2 separate regions of the Homo sapiens genome follow, and region 1 is linked to region 2. Evidence: promoter capture Hi-C in human tissues and cell types (Jung and others, 2019). All regions are on one chromosome and are shown on one strand. Each heading gives the region's core, a stretch centred on a gene start or on the middle of the fragment in contact. The rest is flanking DNA. Distances are from core to core; before and after follow the strand shown. Region 1 has its middle 39 kb from the start of LRRC66. Region 2 holds the start of SGCB (sarcoglycan beta).

Region 1 (6,621 bases), core at 3,836-6,335, 55 kb before region 2:
ATAATTTTCTTCACCATTTTCTGGAGGGAGGCACCATAGTGGGTCCCATATTTATTGATAATTCTGACTTTCTTGTTGGCTTTAATCATTTCACCACCAACTGGGCCTGAGCCCAGACAGCAACAACAATTTATCATATATTTTCAAATAGCTAGAAGAGCGGATTTTGAATATTCCCAGAACAACAACGAAAAATGTTTGAGATGACAGATATGTTAATTACCCTGATTTGATCATTGCACGTTGTACACATGTATTGAAATATCACCCTGTACCCCATAAGTATGTATAATTATTATGCTAATTAAAATTAATAATAAAAGGGAAAAACAGCAGTCATAGGTCAGCTAAGATTGGAGGTGAAAGAATAACCTCCACCTCTCAATGTACCTTGTATGATCAAAGACAGAAGTAATTCATGATTTCACAAAATGTGTTTCTAGAATCTGATTAGTTCATATGTGAAGAGAGACTGATGTCTATGTAACCGAGAAGTCACATTTGATCAGATCAGGTTTCTCCTAGGCAAGGGGAGCCAGAAGAGCAGGAACAGAATCACAACTTTCAGCTGCTGAAAAGATGTGCTGAAAAATCACCACATCTCAGCTGCTGTTCTGGGACCAGGATTCTTTTAGCTGCATTTTAAGAAAATGAAAAATGACTGCCAGCACCAGGCTCTCTGGGGAGGCCCCCAGAGGTGTCCCAGCCTTGTGCCACTCTTGCTTGGTGCCTGTGCCCTGGGAGCTTCTGGCTTCGAGTTCCTTCGGTGTGCATTGTTCCAGCACCCCCAGCTCTGCTCTCACAAACCTGTGGCCAGTGTTTCCTCTCACTGGTTTACGTGAATTTTTAGTATCTACAGTTGTAGCCTCTAGCCATGCCCAGCTGCCTGTCTGGAGCATCCAAGCTACCAAGGTTTGTTTTTCTTAGTGTTCTGGTTACAAAGTTGACTACATGTTGAGTGGTTTTCCCCACTTCATGTACCCTGTAAGCCCCGTGGCTTTTAGTGTTGATTTTGCAGAATGTGAGGCTTTTCAATAATGTAAATTTTACATGATAGCAGAAAAGTCTGAACTATTTATTCTCCATTAATATAAAGCACCAGTCCTTGGAGAGAAGTTGATTCCATTCTTGGGGTAATATTCTAGACTGGTTTGGAACATTTCTTGCCACAAAGAAATGATGCTTTAGAAATCCTGGAGAAAGATATCGAAACCAGCTTCAAGGAGAATCCTATTGGCCAAGTTCTGATAATTTAAGTATATAAAATAAAATAATTATAGTTAATTAAAATATTTGGGGTCATGAAAAGCCAGAGTCAACAGTATTTAAAGAAAAATGACAGCTTTCTTTTAAAATAACACATGATATACTTGGATAGCATTTCTTCAAATGAGCAAAGATGTTATTCACTTTTAATTGTGTGAATAGTTCAGTATTGTAGATACACACATACACACAAACACACACATACACACACACACACACACACACAGGTGGACAAAATACATGTCAGCCAAAGGCTAAAAAGATTTTATTCCCAGATATGGGATGACCTTGTTCATTATGACAATTGAGGTACGTTCATCATATGTTGAATTATTAAGACAATCTGCAAAGCCTTAAAATTCACCAAAACTTCCATTGCCCATATCCCCTAGAATTTACAGGTAGTAGTAAAACATTAAGGTAGGAATTTGAAAAAAAAATAAACTGGCTTTTTGCAGAAACTAGATTCAGACAGACAGAGGTCTTGTCCTCAAGCTGTCATGAACATGAGATTATCAGGCAGTAGAAAGATGGGACTCTCCCCCTTACTCTTGAGTGGACAAGCTCATCAAAGACTTGCTTTCTTAAGCCTGTGGCCTGCCACTTACATTTATTTGATGGCATATTAATCTAGTGTAAATTACTAATGAAATTCATCAAAACTTTTCACTCATAAGACGTAAGAACCCCTTCTCCCCCGCTACATTTATCTCCCTTGAATCTGAAGGTACTCAAATGAAATGTGTATCCTTGAGTGGAGTGGATTTTGTCTTTTAAACAGACTGAGATACATGGACATCTGCTTGCTGGCATTTATTTGCTGTTTTGTGATTCTAGCAGCTATTCCTGGTTACTCTTGGTTACTCCCTTGATTTTTTACCCTTGCTGTGCATGGTCACCAAAAAGAACTGGACAAAGACTTCCCAGGAAGAAAGAGAGAATCTCAGGCCTCACACCCTGGACCACTGTAGAGGGATAGGGAAAAATTTGTCCATCTGATCCCAAAATGACTTTATGGAACCTGAAGGGTTTTTAGGGAGCAACATTGAAAAGACAATTCATATATGGCATTTGCTGCTCTTCAAGGAGGATAAGGTTTTAACGTTTCATGTTTTGGGTTTGTGCCCAAAGGACCAAGACTTATATAATGGTTTTAGGAACATGTAAAGGTAAATTATACCAGAGATTTTCAAAAAGTATTTCTTGGACTAAAATATACTGATGTGGAATTGTTAGGCTCATAAAAACATGTTTGAGTTACTCTGATAAAGAAATGCAAGGGGGGAATATGTTTTAGTGAAAAAATAAAAAAAATGGAATATGTTTTAAAAGTCATTTGTGTAACAACTAGAGACATAATCGAAACAAGTGAAACTAAAACAGAGGGAAAAACTGGGGTAAAGGGACTCTATAGAACTTAGATAGTTTAAATTTTGAGGCAACTTGAGAGCAGAGTCCAAGGGTGAGACATTTTAAAAATCTGAAAGTGGAAGGCTTCAAATATCACTCACATCAAGCAATTTTAGCCAAGCTTATGGCAGGCATATTGACAAAGATTTTTAAAATTTGTTTTTGCAAGAAACAAGAGGCTTACTGAGAAATCTGCAACACCTACATATAAACTGTGACATTTATGCCATGCTACCAGAAGCTTCTTTTGGAAGTCTAAACAAAACAAACAAAAATAGTGAATGCGGTATATTCCTCTTTTCTCTGTGTTGATGGAATAGGAGGTAATTTTTCACTCTATGAAATACTTACCAGCTCTGAGATGACTTTATGGACTCCACATTGGGAGTAAACTCTTGGCAAAACTGAATTTCACCTGAGTTGGAAGTTGGCCAATAGAAGAGTCTCTAGCAGATCTCAGTAAAGTCATGTGAAGCCCTGTTTCTTCTGTAATACACAAAACGGTACAGTGGAGACCCCAGGGAAGAAGGAAGTGGTAGATTCTACTTGGGTGGAATGAGGTGAGAAAAGCTCATGGAGGAAATAATCCATAAACAGCTTATTCAAAGAAGAGTAGATACTCACCAGGCAGATGAGATGGGACTTGGTGGGGAGGCCAGAGGTACCACCCAGAAAGCAGGCAGCAATACGGGCCAAGACATGGTGAAATGATATAGACTGGTGAGTTTGTAACTGCAAGCAGTTACACTTGGTGCACTGGCATGAACTTTGGATGTTAGGAATGGGGCAAAGCACCATGAAATACAAGCTGGGTGGTAAGCAGGGACAGATGCTAGATGTCCTTGTACACTGTACTAAAGTTTGCTCTTTCATTTATTTAATGAATGCATGTATTAAGAACCTACTCAGTGCCAAGTCTTGGGGAGATAGACACAATTTTTTTGTTTGTGTGGCACTTACAGTATTAAAGGGGCAGACAGACATTAAACCTAATCATATGACTAATTATTTAATTTTACTTGTGATAAGCTCTCCTATAGAAAGGCCAATGCTGTGTAATGACAGAATTTGTAATAGGGAAATCTAACTTAGTGAGGCATCTGAGACGTCTTCCCTGAGGAGGTGACAACACAGCGGAGACCTAAGTGGGAGCGTGTCAGCTAAAGGAGGGCTTGTTTGTGAAAAAGCGCTTTGGGCAGGAGGAACATGGGCAAGGGCGGGGAGATGGACAGGCATGTGTATAACCAAGTACCCCCTCTTTTCTAAGAGAAAAAGAATGGGTTATGTTTTATTGTTTTCCTTCTTTTCTCTTTCCCCCTTTTCCCTTGTTCCTCACTTCTTAGCTCTTTAGAAATGAAATTATAACCTTTACCTTCCCTTCGCCAGACACTTCCTACAGAGCAAGCTTATCTATTAGGTTGGTGCCAGAGTAATTTGGCAAAAGTAATGGCAAAAACAACAATTACTTTTGCACCAACCTAATAACTATGCACCAGAGAGGGAATTCTCCCACCAGGAGATGGCCTCAAGAGACAACAGTCAATTTACAACCTGAAGTGCCCCGCAACAGAGCTCTCTTTCACCTGGAGTGGATCTCAAGACAGTGGCCACCTTACAACCTAGCTCTGCCCACGATGGTGCCAGCTCGGTAGTTATGGCATCAAAGCGAGTCATGCAGACCCTACACCTGCTTTCTCCCTCTCCTGCATGCCATTCATGCCAAGTCCCTGCTTAAAAGCCTCTGCTTTCTGCCCAAAAGTAAAGTGATATCCTTAAAGGCAGGAGCCTGTACTTCTTCCCCTAAGCTATGCTGTGGAATAATGTCACTTTCTTTATACCAGACTCAATCTTGTTAATTGGACTCTGCAGGTGGTGAGTGACCGAACCTGTGTTTCAGTTACATGTGGAGCTTTAGGGAAACAGAAAAACCTATAGCCAATGGATGGACTCTACTCAGGGAAGCCACATAATCATATTTGCATTTTAGAAACCACCCCCTGGCTGCAGTGTGGGGAATAGTAAAGGGATGTAGGGCAGGAGGTGTGATCGTCAATTTTATGTGCCTACTTGATGGGTAAGGGATGCCCAGATGGCTGGTAAAACATGGTTTCTGGGTGTGTCTGTGAAGGTGTTTCTGGAAGAGATTAGCATTTGAGTCAGCAGCCAAATAAAGCTTTCTCTCACCTATGTGGGTGGGCAGCACCCAATCCATTGAGGGCCTAAATAGAACAAAAAGGTGGAGAAAAGAGGGCTTTCCTCTGTCTTATTGAGCTGAGACATTATCTCCTCCTGCTCTTAGACATCAGCACTCCCGGTTCTCAGAGATTTGTTTTCTGTTGTTGTTGTTTGTTTGTTTGTTTTGTATACAGGTACCCAGTGTGGTACACAGATTTTTATTTTTTATTTTTTTATTTTATATATATGCATATACTTTATATACATATATATTATTATACTTTAAGTTCTAGGGTACATGTGCACAACGTTAATGGTGTGCTGCACCCATTAAGCCTTCATTTACATTAGGTATGTCTCCTAATGCTATCCCTCCCCCTTCCCCCAACCCCACAACAGGCCCTGGGGTGTGATATTCCCCTTCCTGTGTCCAAGTGTTCTCCTTACTCAATTCCCACCTATGAATGAGAACATGCAGTGTTTGGTTTTTTGTCCTTGCAATAGTTTGCTGAGAATGATGGTTTCCAACTTCATCCATGTCCCTACAAATGACATGAACTCATCATTTTTTATGGCTACATAGTATTCCATGGTGTATATGAGCCACATTTTCTTAATCCAGTCTATCATTGTTGAATATTTGGGTTGGTTCCAAGTCTTTGCTATTGTAAGTAGTGCTGCAATAAACATACGTGTGCATGTGTCTTTATAGCAGCATGATTTATATTCCTTTGGGTATATACCCAGTAATGGGATGGCTGGGTCAAATGATATTTCTAGTTCTAGAACCCTGAGGAATCACCACACTGTCTTCCACAATGGTTGAACTAGTTTACAGTCCCACCAACAGTGTAAAAGTGTTCCTATTTCTCCACATCCTCTGCAGCACCTGTTGTTTCCCAACTTTTTAATGATCACCATTCTAACTGGTGTGAGATGGTATTTCATTGTGGTTTTGATTTGCATTTCTCTGATGGCCAGTGGTGATGAGCATTTTCCCATGTGTCTTTTGGCTGCATAAATGTCTTCTTTTGAGAAGTGTCTGTTCATATCCTTTGCCCACTTTTTGATGGGGTTGTTTTTTTCTTGTAAATTTGTTGGAGTTCTTTGTAGATTCTGGATATTAGCCCTTTGTCAGATGAGTAGATTGCAAAAATGTTCTCCCATTCTGTAGGTTGCCTGTTCACTCTGATGGTAGTTTCTTTTGCTGTGCAGAAGCTCTTTAGTTTAATTAGATCCCATTTGTCAATTTGGCTTTTGTTGCCAATTGCTTTTGGTGTTTTAGACATGAAGTCCTTGCCCATGCCTATGTCCTGAATGGTATTGCCTAGGTTTTCTTCTAGGGTTGTTATGGTTTTAGGTCTAACATTTAATTCTTTAGTCCATCTTGACTTAATTTTTGTATAAGGTGTAAGGAAGGGATCCAGTTTCAGCTTTCTACATATGGCTAGCCAGTTTTCCCAGCGCCATTTGTTAAATAAGGAATCCTTTCCCCATTTCTTGTTTTCGTCAGGTTTATCAAAGATCAAATAGTTGTAGATATGTGGCATTATTTCTGAGGGCTCTGCTCTGTTCCATTGGTCTATATCTCTGTTTTGGTACCAGTATCATGCTGTTTTGGTTACTGTAGCCTTGTGGTATAGTTTGAAGTCAGGTAGCGTGATGCCTCCAGCTTTTTTCGTTTGGCTTAGGATTGACTTGGCAATGTGGGCTCATTTTTGCTTCCATATGAACTTTAAAGTATTTTTTTCCAATTCTGTGAAGAAAGTC
Region 2 (6,497 bases), core at 3,142-5,641:
TGAGCAGAGTTGTCATACGTATCCTATAGTGAGTAACTGCTTTTATTAATAATTTATTAATTTTTTTACGTATACAACTGGCCCTCCATATCCATGGGATCCATATCCATGGATTTAACCACTGTGGATCAAAAATATTTGAGGCCAGGCGCGGTGGCTCAGGCCTGTAATCCCAGCACTTTGGGAGGCTGAGGCGGGTGGATCACGAGGTCAGGAGTTCAAGACCAGCCTGGCCAAGATGGTGAAACCCTGTCTCTACTAAAAACACAAGAAAATTAGCTGGGCATGGTGGCACGCACCTGTAATCCCAGCTACTCCGGAGGCTGAGGCAGGAGAATGGCGTGAACCCGGGAGGCGGAGCTTGCAGTGAGCCGAGATCCCGCCACTGCACTCCAGCCTGGGCGACAGAGCGAGACTCCGTCTCAAAAAAAAAAAAAAAAAAAAAAAAAAAAAAAAAAAAAAAAAAAAAGGGAATGGTTGCATTTGTACAGAACATGTACGACTTTTTCCTTGTCATTATTCCCTAAACAATACAGTATAACAACTGTTTACATAGTGTTTACATTGTGTTCAGTGTTGTAAGTAATCTGCAGATGGATTTAAAGTATACAGGAGGATGTGCAGAGGTTACATGCAAAAACTGCACCACTTTATATAAGGGACTTGAGCATCAATGGATTTGGCTATCCTTTGGGGGTCCTGAGACCAATCCCCCATAGATATTGAGGGACAACGGTATATATTTTCATTTATATGAAAATAAGACCGGAAAGGCTGACATAGTTTGTTACTTATAATTTCACTGACTAGAGCTCACATTACCCTAGATCAGTAGTTTTCAAATGCAGGGTGGGGAGTCCTGGGAGGGTTCCACAAACCCTTTGGGGGGCTGTATTTTTGAAATAACACTGAGATACTGTTTGCTGTTTTTACTCTCCTAGGCCCATGAATGTAAAGGCTACATGACCAATGTGATGGCATCATCACTCAACAGAATGTATGCTTGTATAGCCCTGTACTTTAAAAATTTCTCCATTTTAACTTCTCCTATAGTAAATATCAATGAATATAACCCACATAAACCAAAGCTCTTTGGAATCCTCCATTTTTTAAGAGTGTAAAGAGAACCTGAGACCAAAATGATTTGAGAACCTCTGACCTAGACTATGGTTGAATGACATTTTGGGTAATAATCTTGAATATCAAGAGCACAAAAGAAATGGGCAGAAATGGATACTGTCCTACTTATTTCTTAAAGCTCTGAGAAAATTCAGTTGTTGAATACGCATGTATTAAGCACTTTACGCTTAAACACTAATTCCATAGATAGGAATACAAAAGAACTATAGGAAAGGGTCCTTATCCTCTATGTATTAACAGATATGATTTGTGTACATGTTAACATAAAATATTTAACAATGCAATAAAGCACTCTGTATGTTCAGGTGCCAAAATCAATAGTCTAGGCAATACACACTGCAGAGTTCAAAGGGAGGAGAGACAGGATGACCTGGAGTTGTTAGGGAAATGGGGAGAAGTAGATGGGTCAGATATGGCAAGGCAGGGAAGAGGAAGTTGGAAAAGTAGGGCCAGGTTGTGAAGGTTCTTGGACAGCAGGGTACAAATTCTAGTCTTTATGTTCTATTTAATTGGGAGTCACTGGAGGTTTTTGAGCACAAATTCAGAGTGTTAAAGGTGTGGGCATTTGTACGAGAGAGAAGAAAGAGGAGTACCAGTAAGTAAGCTGCTGGGGATGTTGTAGTAATGGAGGATTGAGGTTAAGAGGACCTAAACTAAAGTGGGATGAAAAAGGAGAGATTAAGTAGATACTTTAAGAGAAGACTTAACAGAATTTGTAGTCAGGTTCCAAAAAAGAACCTCAGGCTTCTGACAGCCCTAACAGATGGGCAACTTAAAAGTGTTAGCCAAAGTTTGAATATAGGTCCACATAAAAGAGAGAAAGGACAAAATTCATCCCTCCTGAGACGTAGTCTTTACTCTTCTCTGCCAAACCATGCACATTACTGTCTTCATCTTGATGCATTTAACATTTATTGAATAGTTACTATAAGCCAGGTGCTCCAAGCTACCAGGATGAACATAGTGTCCACCCTCAAGGAGCTTAATTACAGGCCAGTCAGGTAGACAGACAAGGTGACTAACAGTTCACAAAGCATGACAAGTGCTGTAGTGGAGCAATGCATACAATACAGAAAGGGTACAGAAGAGGAATGCATCTCCACCTAGCAGGCAAGGGCATCAGGGAAAGTTTCTAAGAAAAGCTGAAGGTTGAGTTAACTCTTGAAGGATGGACAGGAGTTAACCAGGCAAAAGAGCTAAGAAGGTCACTCTAGGCAGAGGAAGAAGCATGGAGACTTTGAGAGGCAACCATCTCTGGGAGAACTAATTTTGGTCACTTTATGTGGATGGTGAGAAGGATAGGTGTAGGGATGAAGCAAGAAATACAATGAGAGATGTGCTTAGGGGCCAGTAAGCAACATAAATACCATGACAAGAACAATGGACTTTATCCTGAAGGCAAAGGGGAACTACTGAAGAGTTAAAATAGGTTTCCTATACAATCAGATTTGCATTGTAGTAAAATCACTCCAAAAAGAGATGAACTGGAACTGAAGAGCCTAGAAGTGAAGATATCAACAGCAGGTTTCTCTAAGAGTCCCAATGAGGTACTGACTGAGGTTTGACTTTGAAGCTGAAGTCTGGGGAAAGGTGTTAAGAGGTAGAACTGTCAGGATCTCGTGATTGTTTGGATATGAGTGTGGCACAAAGGGGTCGAAGATGACTCCCAAATAGGACTGGCTATATAATTTGTGGGGCCCAGGGGGAAAAGAAAATGTGGGGCTCACTGTTTAAATCTCAAGCCCAGGACAGCAGAACATTAAACCAAGTGCAGGTCCTTCTCAGCTCCCTTAAAATGGCCTTGGTCCTAAGTTTCTGGCTAGGTTAAACAAGTGAATGGATGGTTGTAGCCTTTTTAATAGTAAGTATGACAGAGTCCAGTTTTGAACATTTTTGAGTTTGAGGTGCCTATGGAAAATTCAGTTAAGTTCAGGGCTGGAGACGTAATGCGTAAATTTGAAGTGGAGACTGAGTAACGGATCAGACTGCCCCACTTATGTGTAAAGCAAAAATAGAACCAGATGGAAAAACAATCATCTGAAACAGAAGCTGATAACTTAGGCGGGAAATGAGGAAAGCCAAGGCACAATTTAAATACCAACTCCAAGAAGTTTTGTCTCCTTTCAGTTTCACTCATTCCTCTATGTTTTATTTTACTGTTACAAATCTGCAGCCTGCCTATTGTCTTTAGCTGATTTTTTCTGCATGTATTTGGCTGTATGACTTTAAGCTCCTTGAAGAGAGATTTTACGTCTTTTATCTTCAGAATGAGCCCTCCAGTGACATATATCTAATAGGTCTCTAAAAAGTTAATTATCTAAGAAAATCGTTCCAAAGGTCAAAACTTGACTCATTTTTTTCAACAATGTTTTAGAATGAGACTTTTTAAAGAGAAACTACTATAATTGTTCAAAGGAAAAGTAAGTTAGGTAAGGGGGAAAGTTACTGAAAATTATCTGTATTACAATAAATCACCCTAGCGATTACGTGTATGTATATATTAACACACACACATATGCATGTACATGTATGCATACGTATAACTAGATTTTGGGGGGATGAGGAGCCTTTTAAACCATTCTAAGTTACAAGTTTACAATGCAGGTCAGGAAATCTTGGATAAATCATTTTTAAAAGTGAACAGGAGATAGTTTTAGACTGGTGACTAAATCTTCAAAAACCAAAGCGTGAGGGGAAATCTGGGATGTCTGCATATTGGAGATGGCAGAAACAAAAAACAAAGATGGCAAGCTGACACCGGGGCAACAGCTGACCCGTTTCTTGTAAGAGGAGCCTTCTCGCTGGGGCTGCGGTTATTTTTATCCAAATCTCTGCTGGCGGCTGAACGGGGTACGTCCCTGGCACGTCCCAGCGCAGGCTTCCAGGCTGGCTCGACCGCCTCCCAGGCTCTCCGGAAGGAGACCCCTCCTCACCCCCTCCGAGGATCAGCCAGGCCGGGCCGAGCCCGAGGCCGCCCCTGGCTCCTGGTCCCTAGCTTGTGCCAGCATCCTCGGCGGGGCACAGCTCCTCCCGCCCCGCCCCGCCCCGATCGGCCCCGCCGAACCCAGACCCTGCGGCCCGCGCCCCCCGCACCCCCGGCCAGGGCTCCCGCGGGCCCAGCCGGCAGGACGCGGCCTCCCCCGCTCCTCCAGCCCGCGGCCGCGGCGGTACTCACAGACCTGTTCTGCAGCCGCCGCCGCCGCTGCCGCCATCTTCCCGCGCCCGCCGCCGCCGAGCTCCCCGCCCGACTGTGCCCGCCCCTCCGCGACCGCACCCTGCGCGCCTGCGCTTGCGCCCTGGCGGGGACTGGGGGCACCCGCTGCTCACACCCTCCCCTCCCCAGCCCGCATCCCTGACGACCCGCATCCCAGCCCTGCGGGCTCAGGCTCTGCGGCGGCCCCTGCACCTAGGACCTTGGCCTGGGGCGCGTTGTATTGCACAGGGGCCAGAAGGGGCCTATGGGGATTCCGCTCCACCCCGGGCCGCCTGCAGATTCCTCAGAAAGGGCACCCTCAAAAATCGAGGACGCTTCTCCCCTTCCCCTTTGTTCCCCATCGCTGAAAGATCGGTGCCATCCGGAGCTGTGAGGCTCTCTTTGTTTCTCGGACCAAGGTCTCCTTGGCTAGGGTGGGAGGGGCCGATATCGAGACCACAAGTGGACGCGGACCGGCGTGGTGACTGCGTGGGCAGAAGTGAACGAGTGGTCACTTAGGTGGCTGGAGTCTTGAAGACTGAGAGTCCTCAAGGAGGACGTTGAATCCTTCGGGCTGCTTGACTTCGGAGGCCTATGAAGTCTGATGTTTTTATCCTGCGATACTGGGGATGGATTTTTCATTTAGTGTTGGAGATAGTGTTACCATGTATATCCTCGGGAACCTAATTGAACGGACATTTACTGAACACCGGGAAGCCACTCAAATGTACGAGTTACTTGAGTAGACATTCATTGTTCCCTGTTGTAGATATAATCCAATAATTATTTTAGCTGAAAAAAAATGCAGTGAAGTCAATAGCAACTGTTCCTCATGTAGCTGAATCACTTCTAATAAGCACCTTTGGGCCCTAGTACTGTCTAATTCAGTGGGAGTCAGTACCTAGCTGGTCATCAGTCTCTCTGCATTTCTTTTTTCCTAAATGCTGGAACCACTTGACTCATATCTCTAGACTCACTCCTCTCTGAGTCTGTGGGACAAACATGCATTTTAGGCAGGAAAATTCTAAGTTAAAGCCCAATGATGCAGGAGTCAGCAGTAAGGCTCTGTGTTAATATTCTGCCTGTGGTCTCATTGATCAATTTGCACAACTGGGCTTTTAACTGATTCTGAGTTCCTATCTTCTAGTCCTTAATTCCTAAGCTTTGCGTTTTTCTCTCTGCTGGGAAAGTTCTTCTTCCCTGGCACGCGCACTCTTATTCATCCTTCAAGAACTATTCTATTCAAACGTCATATTTTCTCTAAAGGCTTCAGAGGCTCCCACAGATCTGTTCCTTAACTGTGTGCCTAGCCTTTTCTAGCACTTCAGATTGCATTGTATTTTTATCTTGTCTACCTGCTGATTTCATTCAAAAGATGGTGTGTTCTATCTGGAAGGTAGGTGTCTTACTCATCGTTTAATCTCCAATGTCTAGCACAGTAATTAAACTTAATAGATATCTTAGAAATCTGCCCAGTATCCCAATTTCTAAGCCCTGACTTGATTTTGCCAACCTCCCTCCCACTTAGGTGGTGAGATACCTGGTAGCCAATTTTCCTGAAACCAAATGCTCCTTTGGCTATTTGAATATCACCTTCTCTTGGATTCTTTCCTCATCGCTGATGTCCATCTCTGACAGGACATCCCACTATTCTTAATGCCAATTTCTATTCTCTTTTAAAGAGATCCAATTCACTCACATGACCACATTTTAATGTGGGTTATTTTCAAATGTACTATTGTCAGCCTTTTTTCCCCTGAAATAATGACATTTAAAGTCAACTCTGTGCCTGGCAATGCCTCTTTTACAAATGAAGAAATCAAGGCTTGTAGAGGTTAAATGGCTGACCATCTTTTCAACTCCTAAAGAGCCAGTATTGAATCTAGGTCCATCTGACTAGTCTTTGCTCTTTCTACCATACATCACAGCCTTTAATTTTGCTCTTTCTTTTGACTGTTGCATGATATTAGCATTTGGAAGCACAAAACACAGGTCCCCAGGGCTGGAGTATGAGTCAGATTATGAAGACACTTACACCTTTGTTCACTTTGCAGTGGTTTGAATAGTGCCCTGCAAAAAGGCATATCCAAGTCCTAACCTCCAGTATCTGTGAACGTGGTGTTACTTTGAAACAGAGTCTTTGCAGATTGCTATAGAATGAATG

What was found. The method cuts DNA at HindIII sites, captures the fragments that hold promoters and counts their contacts. A contact is called where the count stands out against the background at its distance.
Region 1: a contact is called between a fragment that was not itself captured here and the fragment with the promoter of SGCB in region 2, in 1 of the 25 tissues and cell types used here (bladder).

Annotation. Positions count from the first base shown.
Region 1 is chr4:51,978,284-51,984,904 of GRCh38, forward strand. It overlaps the pseudogene RPL37AP2. Among named protein-coding and RNA genes, the nearest start is that of LRRC66, 39 kb to the right of the region's middle. The HindIII fragment of the contact is 3,172 bases long and covers 3,500-6,621 here.
Region 2 is chr4:52,033,908-52,040,404 of GRCh38, forward strand. SGCB (sarcoglycan beta) reads right to left here and starts at 4,392. Exons shown (of 6, transcript NM_000232.5): 1 at 4,320-4,392. The coding sequence starts at 4,352. RefSeq lists an enhancer at 3,805-3,924 and a silencer at 4,165-4,604. The HindIII fragment of the contact is 15,508 bases long and covers 1-6,497 here.